3 separate regions of the Homo sapiens genome follow, and all the other regions are linked to region 2. The links are contacts of gene promoters, found by promoter capture Hi-C in human tissues and cell types (Jung and others, 2019). All regions are on one chromosome and are shown on one strand. The core of a region is centred on a gene start or on the middle of the fragment in contact, and the rest is flanking DNA. Distances in the headings are between cores, read along the strand shown.

Region 1 (3,696 bases), core at 130-2,629, 270 kb before region 2:
GCTGGACTAGAAAACTGCCACCAGGTGGCACCAAATTCCCCTCATCCCCTCTCCTACCTGAGTTGGCTGCCTGCACAAGACAATGCTACCCTGCAGATTATAAGATTAAATTTTTGGACCCCACTTATTATTACTATATTTTAGCATGATCTACTTTTCAGTTTAAAAGGAGCCAGAAAGAGTACTGAAGTGAATACATACTGAATTTCAGAACTGAATTTGGTTCATCAGGTACCACTCATCTAGTAATATTAAGCTTCTAATAGCAAGGAAATAAAAACACTTTTAGAGTGTGATTTGTTTCTAACACAACAAAATGGAAACCAATGGAAGTTTTGGAAACATTCTTAGTAGCATGGTATAACAAAGATTAAAAGCTGATAAATAAATGGGAGTAGAGAATTTAAGAACTCTCATTTTCCCTTATTAAAAGCAAAGTATTTAACTCCCAGTTGCCAATTAAAGATAAATGGGGAATCAGTATTTTTTGGCCTTTATTCTAAGACTTCTAATTTTCAGTATTTTTAACTGTATTAATATCTGGATGTCTCTGAGGTCGTATGTATGCAGCAGCACAAAAAATAGTCACAAGATTATGAAATCAGAAACCAGAATTCAAATCCCACAATGTTAGAGCCTACAAGTAACATAAGTGTGTAACACCGTGCAAGTCACAAATGTCTCTGAACTTTAGTTTCCTTGTATGTCAGTGGGAATAAAACTAATCTCTTACAGTTCCTAAACACAGCCCAATACAGTAGGTTTCCAATAAATGTTTTCTTCCCATTCTCATTAACAAAATACAAAAGGAAAAATATAATATATATATGCTAATATGTTACCATTTTACTCCCTATATGATTCTTAGGTACCAAAGCAGCGCTAACAGCAAAGAAATAAAAATCACAACACAATTCTTACTTACCCTTGAGGGCTGAGATCTAAAGAATCATCCCTGCTGTGCTGCAAGCTGGGTGATCCCAAGTCAGCTGCAGCATGAGTGGCAGCTGTGGCTGTCCCACTGCTGACTGAAGTTGTGGATCCCATGGATCCCGATCCATTCGTACATGCCTTTGGTGGACTTGTCAACAAAGACTCTGATTCTGCTAAGTGTTTTACTTGATGCATTACACCTTTATAATAACAGAGATGAAAGGGAGTCAGTTTTAATCAGGAGTAGAACCTTCTCCCCACCATTACAAAATCCCTAAATACCAACACTGACATAATACACAAAAAGACTAAAACATAACTGGCAAATAGGTAAAAGAAATTAGGAGCCAGAGTTTTCAACTTGACTTCAATCAGAAAAAAATATAAAAACTAAAGGTTAAAGAAAAATACTGATATTGAATGTCTTCTAATCTTCAAAACCAGATTATATAAAACTTAATAGGGTCACAAAGTCCTATTCAGAGTTCAAAATACTCATTATAAAAACAATAATCAACTACAGAAATACAGTGCACACCCTGTGGTGTGACAGCCAGAAGGGATGGAAAAGACCAAGAATCAGTTAACTTCAAGCGCTACAAAAAGACAAGATCACATTAACACTGCCACCAAAAAAAAAACCAGCTATTGAAGGGTGGGAACTATCACATCCTTTAAGGTGTGTAAAGAGAGCTAAACATTAACTTGTGAGGCAGGGGTTCCTATCTGTCCCGGAATCATAGGAGAGTATGTATGAAGGAGTGTGACTAAGAACTATCAAATTGTATACCAATATGCATGTCTGATTATCAGCTAGTATAAACTATATGCAAATATGTGGATATATTTAACGTGAGTGAATGAGCACACGTTCACATTTTTCTGGGGAAGAGTCCACGGCTTCTATCATTCTATCAGACTCTTATTAAAAGACAAACTGTAATCCCACGCTGAGGCAGTAGGATTGCTTGAGGCAAGGAGTTTGACATCAGCCCAGGTGTGCACCACCACACCCCGCTAATTTTTGTATTTTTCTTAAAGACTGGGTTTCACCATGTTGGCCAGGCTGGTCTCCAACTCCTGACCTCAAGTGATCCACCTGCCTTGGCCTCCCAAAGTGCTGGGGTTACAGGCGTGAGCCACCACGCCCAGCCTAAAAGACACATTCTACGTACACAGAGCTATAAGCTAACAGAGCTTTAAATGTCATTTTTAAATTGAAAAGCTATCAGTTTTTGCTCGACAGATTAAAACTTTATTTCTGTTGAAGTACTATCTAGACTAAATGACTATTAATTTATATGACATTACCTTCTCTTCTGAAGTAAACACTAAAAATATCAGGTAACTTCTGCATTAAAATTTCTGCCATCTGAAGTGCTCCCACTACTATCTTCAGGTCTTGGCTTGACAGCATGGAAGCAATGTGACTAAAAAAAGAAAGCATTTGTATATAAAACTCTGCCTGAATTTGATGATTATTTTTGGCCATACTACTTTAAATTGAGAGCAAAGCATTTTCATTGTGAAACCATTCTATTAACATAAACATTTTTCTTAAATGCTCAAGTTTTATATTTTATAAAAGCTATTATGTGAATATAAATAGACAAAAAAGAGCTCAAGATACTCCTAACAAATTTTTGTGCATATTTTTTCTATTATTACTTTAGAGGTTTCTGAAATTACTTGCAGAGATTTGTATTTGTAAAATGTTTCTACTATTTTCATTAACACACCTTGAAACAGCATGATTTTTCAGAACATCCTTCAGAAGTTCAGCATCCGCAAAATAAATTATCCTAAGAATTGCTCTAAGGCACTTATGTCTGACCGCAGGTCCTGCTGAGGAACTATACACTTCATAAAGAACACCAAATAATGTCTTAATAAAAGACTTAGCCAGTTCCGGATCCTCTTTCATAAGCTGTGCTCGAGCATCATCCTTCTTTGACTCTGAATATCCACCTATTACATTAAAAAAAAATATATGTGCAATCCTGAAGTGACAGACTTCAGAAACACAATAAACAATATAAAATACTCAAGCCAGTGTAATTCTTGAAATGCTATGAAAACTTTTTCATTATAGAACACATGAACTTCTATGATATGATCAACTAGGATTTACAAAGATGCTAAAGGCAACATTAAGACAGACAAAATTCAGCTGTCTAGAAAACTAGTGACCCATTGGGGCCAGCTGAAAGTAACAATTCATCACCGCACTGTACCTCTTTATTTTACTGATATACATTCAATGAAACAATAGGGAAATCCAATCCTAACCAACCAAACCAGTGGTAAGAAACTGAGTTCTAGAAATGCACCATATTTCACTAAAAGCTTTGTAAAATGGATAAAGAAGGTAATTCTACCACTTTGCTTAGTGACATAAAGTGTAAGGAAAAGATAACTGATAAGCAGTAAGTTATATACAAGGGGTTGACAAAGTACGGTCTGTAAGCCGAATCCAGTCCACCACCGGTTTTTGTAAATATAATTTTATTAGAACGCAGCCATGTACATTTGTTCACATATTGTATATGGCTAATTGAGGGCTACAATGGCAATGGTGGTGAGTATAGACTATATATAACCTGCAACACTTATATTATTTACTATCTGGCCCTTTATTTTATTTAATTAATTTATTTATTTATTCAGACAGAGTCTCACTCTGTCACCCAGGCTGGAGTGTGGTGGCAGGATCTCAGCTCACTGCAAGCTCCGCTTCCCGGGTTCACGCCATTCCTCTGCCTC
Region 2 (3,548 bases), core at 1,038-3,537:
CATTTTTTTTTTTTTTTTGACAGAGTATGGCTTTGTCGCCCAGGCTGGAGTGCACTGGTGAGATCTCGGCTCACTGCAACTTCCGCCTCCCGAGTTCAAGCGATTCTCCTGCCTCAGCCTCCCGAGTAGCTGGGACTACAGGTGTGTGCCACTGCATCTTTAGTATCTTTAGTAGAGAAGGGGTTTCGCCATGTTAGCCAGGCTGGTCTCGAAACTCTGACCTCAGATGATCCACCCGCCTCGGCCTCCCAAAATGCTGGGATTACAGGCATGAGCCACCGCGCTGGGCCAAGTCATTCATTTTTAATTTGGCTATTGTTATTACATTGCATGTGGTGAGCTCATTACACATAAGGAAAGCGGGAAGCACGAAGCTAAAATTGAAATTACAGTCTTCCCCAAAGCTACGCAGAGCGTGGTGGTAGCGGCTCTGCATCCCACGCAGGTGAGTGCGGGCTTCACCTTTAATTCTGCTCTGCAGGCGCTTCCGCGCTCTTCACCTGGTGTGTACAGGGCATTTGGGGCCTTTAGAGGGCGCACTTGCGGCCAGCAGGCTGAAGAGGCTGCCGCGGAGAAGGCTGGGGAGCGGAGCTGAGCTGAGCTGGTGCAGACAGCATAGGAGAAAAACAGAACCGAAAAATTCACACCGAATTAGGAGGACTCAACACATACATGCTTCGCTCTGGGTCAGGGACTGTGCTTGGTGGCTTCTCCTCCAGTCCAATTGGCATGAATGTCCGCATTTTACAGAGGAAGAATCTGAGCCATCAAATGGGAGCAATGAAGCTTAGAAAGGTTAAACTAGCAGGCTGTGGAAACCAAATCGGAACCCAGGCCTGCAGGATCCCAAGCCTGTTTTACCTCCTCCCACCCCCAACACTGCCTCTCTCCCCTCTCTTCTCTCTCTCTCTCTCTCTCTCTCTCTCTCTCTCTCTCACACACACACACACAGCCGCACACGCACGCACATGCAAACAAAGAAGCCAGACAAGGCAAAGGAGAATCTCTCTAAGCCCCAATAATGGCCCTCAGTCATCCTTGTTAATGAGCCCGAATCAACTTTTCCTCAGAAAGAAAATGGCTTAATTGGAAAGCAGAGTTCAGCTCCTAAAACATCGTCATGGCCTTGGCAGCGTTTAGCCCCGAAATGGCCGTCCCCGGTCTCTCACCCCATTTCAGCCTCTCTTGAGGAGCCTCAATCGGAAGCGCTAAGGGGGCCCAGCCTCTGCGCGCCCTGGGTGCGGGATCGTGCCCGCGGGGTCCGGCCTCGCGCCCCACCCTTCGAGCGCCCGCCCCCACCCGCGCTCGGTGCTCCCGCTCCCTTGGCACCCCGAGACCACATCCCCACTTCGGGCACCCCGCATCCCTCGGCGCGTTCGGAAGCCAGCAGCCCACCGGGGAAGCTGGGCCGGCTGCAGCACCACAGCCTGTGCAGAGAGGCATCCGCACCCCGCGAAGTCCCTAGGCGCAGCCCCGGGTCCCCCGCTCTGCGCCTCATCACTGTCCAGTTCGAGTCCCAAACGGGCCTAGAGAGCAGCCGGGCAGCGAGGCTGGGCTCCGGGCAGAACGCGCTTCTCCAGCCGGACGGGGGTGCCCAGGATGACGCTCGCGGGGCCCCGGCCAGCTTGAGCAGCAAGGCGCGCGTCCCCAAGCTCCGCCTGGCGGTCTGCCCTGAACCGCCGGTTACCCTGCCCGCCCGCAGCTCCCAAGCCCCCGCGGCGGCCTTGGCACTACCACCTGCCCCGGCACAGTCTCGCCCTCCACCGCCCGGGCAGCCTTTCCCGAGCCTGCCTTGGGCTGGGGCTGCCCCTTCCCGGGGGTCCCTGGGGGTGCAGCGGCCATCTGAAACCTAGGCTCCGATGCCCCCGGCGTCGCTCCATTCCCCAGGCCCGCGGCGCGCGCGGCCTCGGATACTCACCGCCCGAGGCCCGCTGGGCTGCGGCCTCACTCGGCTCCACGCCCGGATCCTCGAACTTGCTGCTCTGCTTGGAGCCCCCTGAGCTGCTGGGTGTAGAGATTTGTTGCAATGTCGCCTATCATCCTGGAGACGCGGGTGCCTGCGGCTCAGCTCTCCGCCCGGCTCGGTGCGCTCTGTGAGGGGCTCCCGGGCTCTTCCGCCGCTCGCTGCCAGGCCAGGTGAGCGTTTGGTGGAGCTGAAAGCTCGACGCCTCAGTCCAGGTGGCTTTAAAACGGGTGCGTTTGGAGGTGCCCAAACCTAACCTGGGCTTCCTTCCAATCGGAGCAATTTCAAATCTTCATGCTCGTTCATTCCTATACCGGCTAATTCTGGTTTGGCAGGGAAAAAAAATGCAGTCACCTCACATGCACACTCTTGTGGCCGGTTGAAGTTTATAGCTTTGGCTGAGGTTCCGCTAAGGCGCTGCACATTTATCACTGGCGGAAAGGTCCTGAAATCTAATCCAGGATGCAAGTGAGACTAGCAGTAGCCTCCATTTCTCTGAGATGGGAGAGAAGGGATGAAACAGACCCTCACTGAAATATTTTTGGCCAAAGAGGACTCAAAGTCCCTTATTCTCTCTCTTTTAGAGACACGGGTTTCACTATATTGCCAGGCTGGTCTCGAACACTTGGACTCAAGGAATCCTCTGGCCTTGGCCTCCAAAGTGCTGGGATCACAAGCTGAGCCACCGTGACCGGCCAGTCCCTCATTCTTGTTTCCACCCTGGGTCCCACCTCTCCCTGCTCTTTCTGCACGTCCATTACCTACCTTCGTGGGCACCAGGCACAACTTTCATCTCAATACCTCCCTACCTCATTCCCAGCAGGGCACACAACATAGTGCTTTGCCTTGGACAGTTTTCTGTATTATTGAAGTGAATGTGTGAGTCGATGAAGCCTGTGCTGTTTTTTCCCGCCTGAAGGTTTTGCAGTAATTCTCTGCTGCTGTTGTGATAAACTGCCACAGTAATAGCAGAGGAAAACCACACAAATTCACTATTTTACAGTTCTGGAGGTCGGAAGTTTGAAATGGGTCATACTAGGCTGAGATCATGGTGTTGGCCACCTTGAAGGCTGTGTTCCTTCTCGTGGCTGTAGGGGAGAGCCACCAGCTTCTGCAGGCCGCCCACATTCCTTGGCTGGTGGCTCTTCCTCCATCTTCAAAGCCAGCACTGCTGCGTCATTTTGTCTTCTTTCCATACTCACATTGCCTTGTCTCCCCTTTTCTGCCCCCACCCCTGTCCACTTTTAAGGACCCTGGGGATTACATTGAGTCCAATGAGATAATCCAGATAATCTCTCTATTTTAAGGTCAGCTGATTAGCAACCTTAATTCCATCTGCAACCTTAATTCCCCTCTTGCCATGTAAGGTAACAAATTCACATGTTCCAGGGATTAGGATGTGGACATCTTTGGGAGACCATTATTCTGCCTACCACAGATTTCCTTCTTTCTTCTTTTCCTTTTTCTTTTCTTCCTTCTTTTTCGTTTCTTTGAAAAAAAATTCACATGTATTTCACATTGCCTTCCTCGGTCACCCAAGCTGGAGTGCAGTAGCATGATCACAGCTCATTGCAGCCTCAACCTC
Region 3 (3,687 bases), core at 440-2,939, 350 kb after region 2:
TGGAAGCATCCCCTGTGGATAGAAGGGAACTAGTGTGCTAAATTTTACATATGAATTTGCGTTGGTGACCCATGATCTGATCCATGGTTCTATTTTCATTCTTGTTTCAATACTGAAATGTTTTAGTTACTATGATTTTATAGGTAGTGTTCTGTAACCTACCTTACTGGGATTGAATTGAGAGACACTAAATGAACAGATAAATTTAGGAAGAATTTATGTTTTAAAAAAATCCTGAATGGCCCCAGTGAGAAACATAGTAAATCTCTCCATTTATTCATGATTGTTTGAACTTGGGACCTTGTTGGGTCGCTTTAGTTCTAGGCATTTTAAAATTGTATTTGTAAACAGGAATTCATTTTCCTTTTACATTTTCTAGTTATTTCTTGCTGGCATAAGGGAAATCTATTCATTTTAGTTAGCTGATCTTGTGCATAGGAGTCTTACTAAGTGGTCTTCTCCCTCTTAATATTGTCTTGTGTTTTTCTGGAGAAATAATTACATCTTCAAAGATAGTAGCAGCTTTGTCTCCTCTTTTTCAGAATTTATACCTGTATACTTTTCTTTTTCTTTCTTTTTTCTTTCTCTTTTGCCTTAGCGCATTAGCCAGGACTGCCAGTGTAATACTGAATAGTAACAGTAAAAATGAACATTTTAGTTTTATTCCTGATTTCAAGGGGAATACTTATAATGTTTAAATTGAGGCTTTCTTATAGACACCTTTTTTCAAGTTAAGGACATTTCCTGCTGGCTCTGGTTTACTAAAAGTTATTTATTTTAATCAGGCCTGTGTATAGGATATTTATCAAAATGCCTACTAAAGAATCTTTGAGAATTGTATCATTTTTCTCTTTTAATCTGATTTATCCACAGTAAATTATATTGAAACATTTTATTAATTCGGTTATTAATTTCACCAAAGTAAAACATATATATATATATAGCTTAAAGTATCAGTCAATAAGACCTTTAAAAACACAAGTAGTACTTTCTGCCATCTTCCCAGCCCATGTCCAGTTTCCCTAATGGATTAACTTTTTGGCTCTTACTTTTGTATTTACTTCTGTATTTTGAAATGATGTGCTGATACAGCTCTTTGTAATTTTTCAAGTTTCAGACATTAATCTGTTCACATAATAGGACAGAAGATGAAGACTTTTTCCATAACACTCCTTTTCATTCCCTGTCCATTCTCATAATACATCACAGTTGGAGGTTCATCAGTAATCAGTGTTACCATTATGATGACTATTTACATGTTGTTCATAACCAAGTCATCTACTATATTATGATTACATTTCCTTTCCTGTGCAACATCCTCCCGCCCCTCCCCGCCGACCCCACAAATAACTATTGCCCTCTTATATATTTGCTTGGATTTTGTGTGTCCTCATTATGAATTCTTCCCAAGCACTCTGCAGAATTCTAAAATTCTTTTCAGTACAGTGAGGCACATTGGGTAATTTATCAAGTCCATTTTACTTTCTTGGGGAAACCCTCCTGGAATTATCCATTCCCCTGATTCCATCAGTTCTGGTTAGTTTCAGCTTCCAAGGCTGACCTTGAAGCTTGACATCTCTCCTGTGTTGGGTCTTGTTTTGTGGATTACATGTATACCTCTTTCTTGCTTTACTATCTCATTTTGGTTTACCACATTATCCAGTAGCCTCCTGACTAAGAGTTTATAGAAGATATACATATATATATATATATATCCTACCTTACTGGGATTCAATTGAGAGACACTATATATATATATATATAAATTGTACATGTCTGGAAAAAAAATTTTATCCTTAATCCTCACAACTGCATAAATATTTGGTAAGTATAAATGCAGAGTTTGGAAATTAATTTAGTTCACTGTCTTGCAACTTCCAGCATTGCTAATAAGAAACCTGATGCCATTCTGATTATTGATCCTGTCTTTCTATGTCACCTGTTTTGCCTGTCTGAAATTTTCTGGCTCTTCTCTTTGATCCCTTGATTCTAAAATCTCATGATGGTTTGCCTTGATGTGGGTGTTAAATTCATTTGTTGTGCTTTGCTCTCCAGGGCCCTTTCAAATGGACAACTTTATTTCAATTCTGACCATTTTGCTTGTGATATTATTTGAATAGTTTCTCCCTTCTGCTTTATCTCTCTCTTTTATCTTTTGGAATTCCTGTTAGTTGGATGTTAGCTTTCCTAGATTGATCCTCTAGAGACTCCCTGGTTTTTTTTCTTGAAAATCTTATATGTCTTCTTTTCTTGAATCTAACTTCTATGACATTTTCTGAGGAACTTCATTCCTTCTAGTGATTAAAACACTTCTGCCATTATATTTTTAATTTCCAAAAGCTCTTTTGAAAAGTTGTTTCTCTTTTATAGCATCTTGTTTCAAGAAATCCGAAATTTTCTCTCTACTAATGAGGATGAAAATTTTTTTTAAATTTTACGTTTCTTCCAAGGTTGTTTTAAGTGTTAGTTCCTTCCAGGTTTCTTTCCCAGCTCCTCCTCCATTATTTGCTTGTTCTGGAAGAATTCATCAAGTGTCCACTGGGTGTCCATTCACATTTCGGAATGAGACACTAAAAATCTGATTAGGAGCTCTGTGCAAGGAATGCCTCTCATTGACTGTGCCTCATTTTGATTTTTCATTTTCCAACTCGCCTTCTAAAGGAATGGTGCCTCTAATTCCTGACAACTTCCAGAGTTCAAAAGTGTACACTGGCTTACTCCTTGTCAGCTTCCCCTAAGCAAGTAATCAAGATTTTTGTTTTTTCATTCTGTGAAATTAGCTACCATATATGCCCCTATCTTCCAAAATGTTTGATTATCTCTTATTTGATGCCCTTTTCTATTCCCTGATCTTTGCTTCTTTTCTGCCTCTAACTCTCTCTTATAGGTGGTTTCATGGGATTTCAGAAGGAACACAGATGAATGCAGGTGTGTTCAACCTGCCAGGCTTAACCAAATGCATAGATTGGTTCTCTAATGTGACCTTTCCTGGAATCCCTGAGATAACACCTACATGGTCATGCCATATGACTCTTTCATCCACTCCTGGGTTGGATTTATTTATATTTTGTTGTGGGATTTTACCTCACGTGTTTATAAGCAACTTTGTGACCTACAATTTTCATTTCTTATTTTGTATTTGTCTAGGGTTGATAGCAGAACTATAGCAGCCTCATGAAATAACTGAGGGTGATTGAAATTTTGAATATATTTATATATATGCACATATATGTATTAGAATGATTTGTTTAATACAGACATCATCTGTTCCTTGAAAGATTGCAGAAAATTGTCCATTAAATTATTTGAAACTGATGTCTGTGTGTGTAGTTGTTAGGAGAAAGCAGATTAGTGAAGCTCTGGAAGTATATTATGCATTTCTCCTGTTATTTTTAGTTCTTATGCTGACCTTTGAGCCAGTTTTGATTGTTTATTGTCCTAAAAAGTAACTATTTCCCTAGATTCTCTTCTTATTGGGAGAAAGTTGTATAGAAATTTCTTATATAAAGTTTTAATCCTTTCCTTCTCTGAAGATGTGTCCTTTTTCCTATTCCTACCATTGTTTATTATTGTTTTTTCCTTTGTTTTCTTGATCAATCTTTCCATTTTGTTGGTCTTTTCAATGAACCACCTTTTGGTTTTATTGATCCACTACTCTTATTTTCTGTTTGAGATTTAATTAAATCT

The links. The method cuts DNA at HindIII sites, captures the fragments that hold promoters and counts their contacts. A contact is called where the count stands out against the background at its distance.
Region 1: a fragment that was not itself captured here is called in contact with the fragment with the promoter of SLC16A14 in region 2 in 1 of the 25 tissues and cell types used here (lymphoblastoid cells).
Region 3: a fragment that was not itself captured here is called in contact with the fragment with the promoter of SLC16A14 in region 2 in 1 of the 25 tissues and cell types used here (heart right ventricle).

Annotation. Positions count from the first base shown.
Region 1 is chr2:229,801,327-229,805,022 of GRCh38, forward strand. TRIP12 (thyroid hormone receptor interactor 12) reads right to left here. Exons shown (of 42, transcript NM_001348323.3): 19 at 2,673-2,901; 20 at 2,245-2,363; 21 at 926-1,133. Among named protein-coding and RNA genes, the nearest start is that of DNER, 89 kb to the left of the region's middle. The HindIII fragment of the contact is 4,828 bases long and covers 1-3,696 here.
Region 2 is chr2:230,066,637-230,070,184 of GRCh38, forward strand. It overlaps SLC16A14 (solute carrier family 16 member 14), which reads right to left and starts at 2,288. Exons shown (of 5, transcript NM_152527.5): 1 at 1,919-2,288. LOC107985995 (a long non-coding RNA gene) reads left to right here and starts at 103. Exons shown (of 6, transcript XR_001739918.2): 1 at 103-141. RefSeq lists enhancers at 996-1,766, 2,162-2,281, 2,292-2,351 and silencers at 1,142-1,391, 1,662-1,931. The HindIII fragment of the contact is 6,778 bases long and covers 253-3,548 here.
Region 3 is chr2:230,419,808-230,423,494 of GRCh38, forward strand. All of the region lies in intron 2 of SP100 (SP100 nuclear antigen), which reads left to right. Among named protein-coding and RNA genes, the nearest start is that of SP100, 5.4 kb to the left of the region's middle. The HindIII fragment of the contact is 3,698 bases long and covers 1-3,538 here.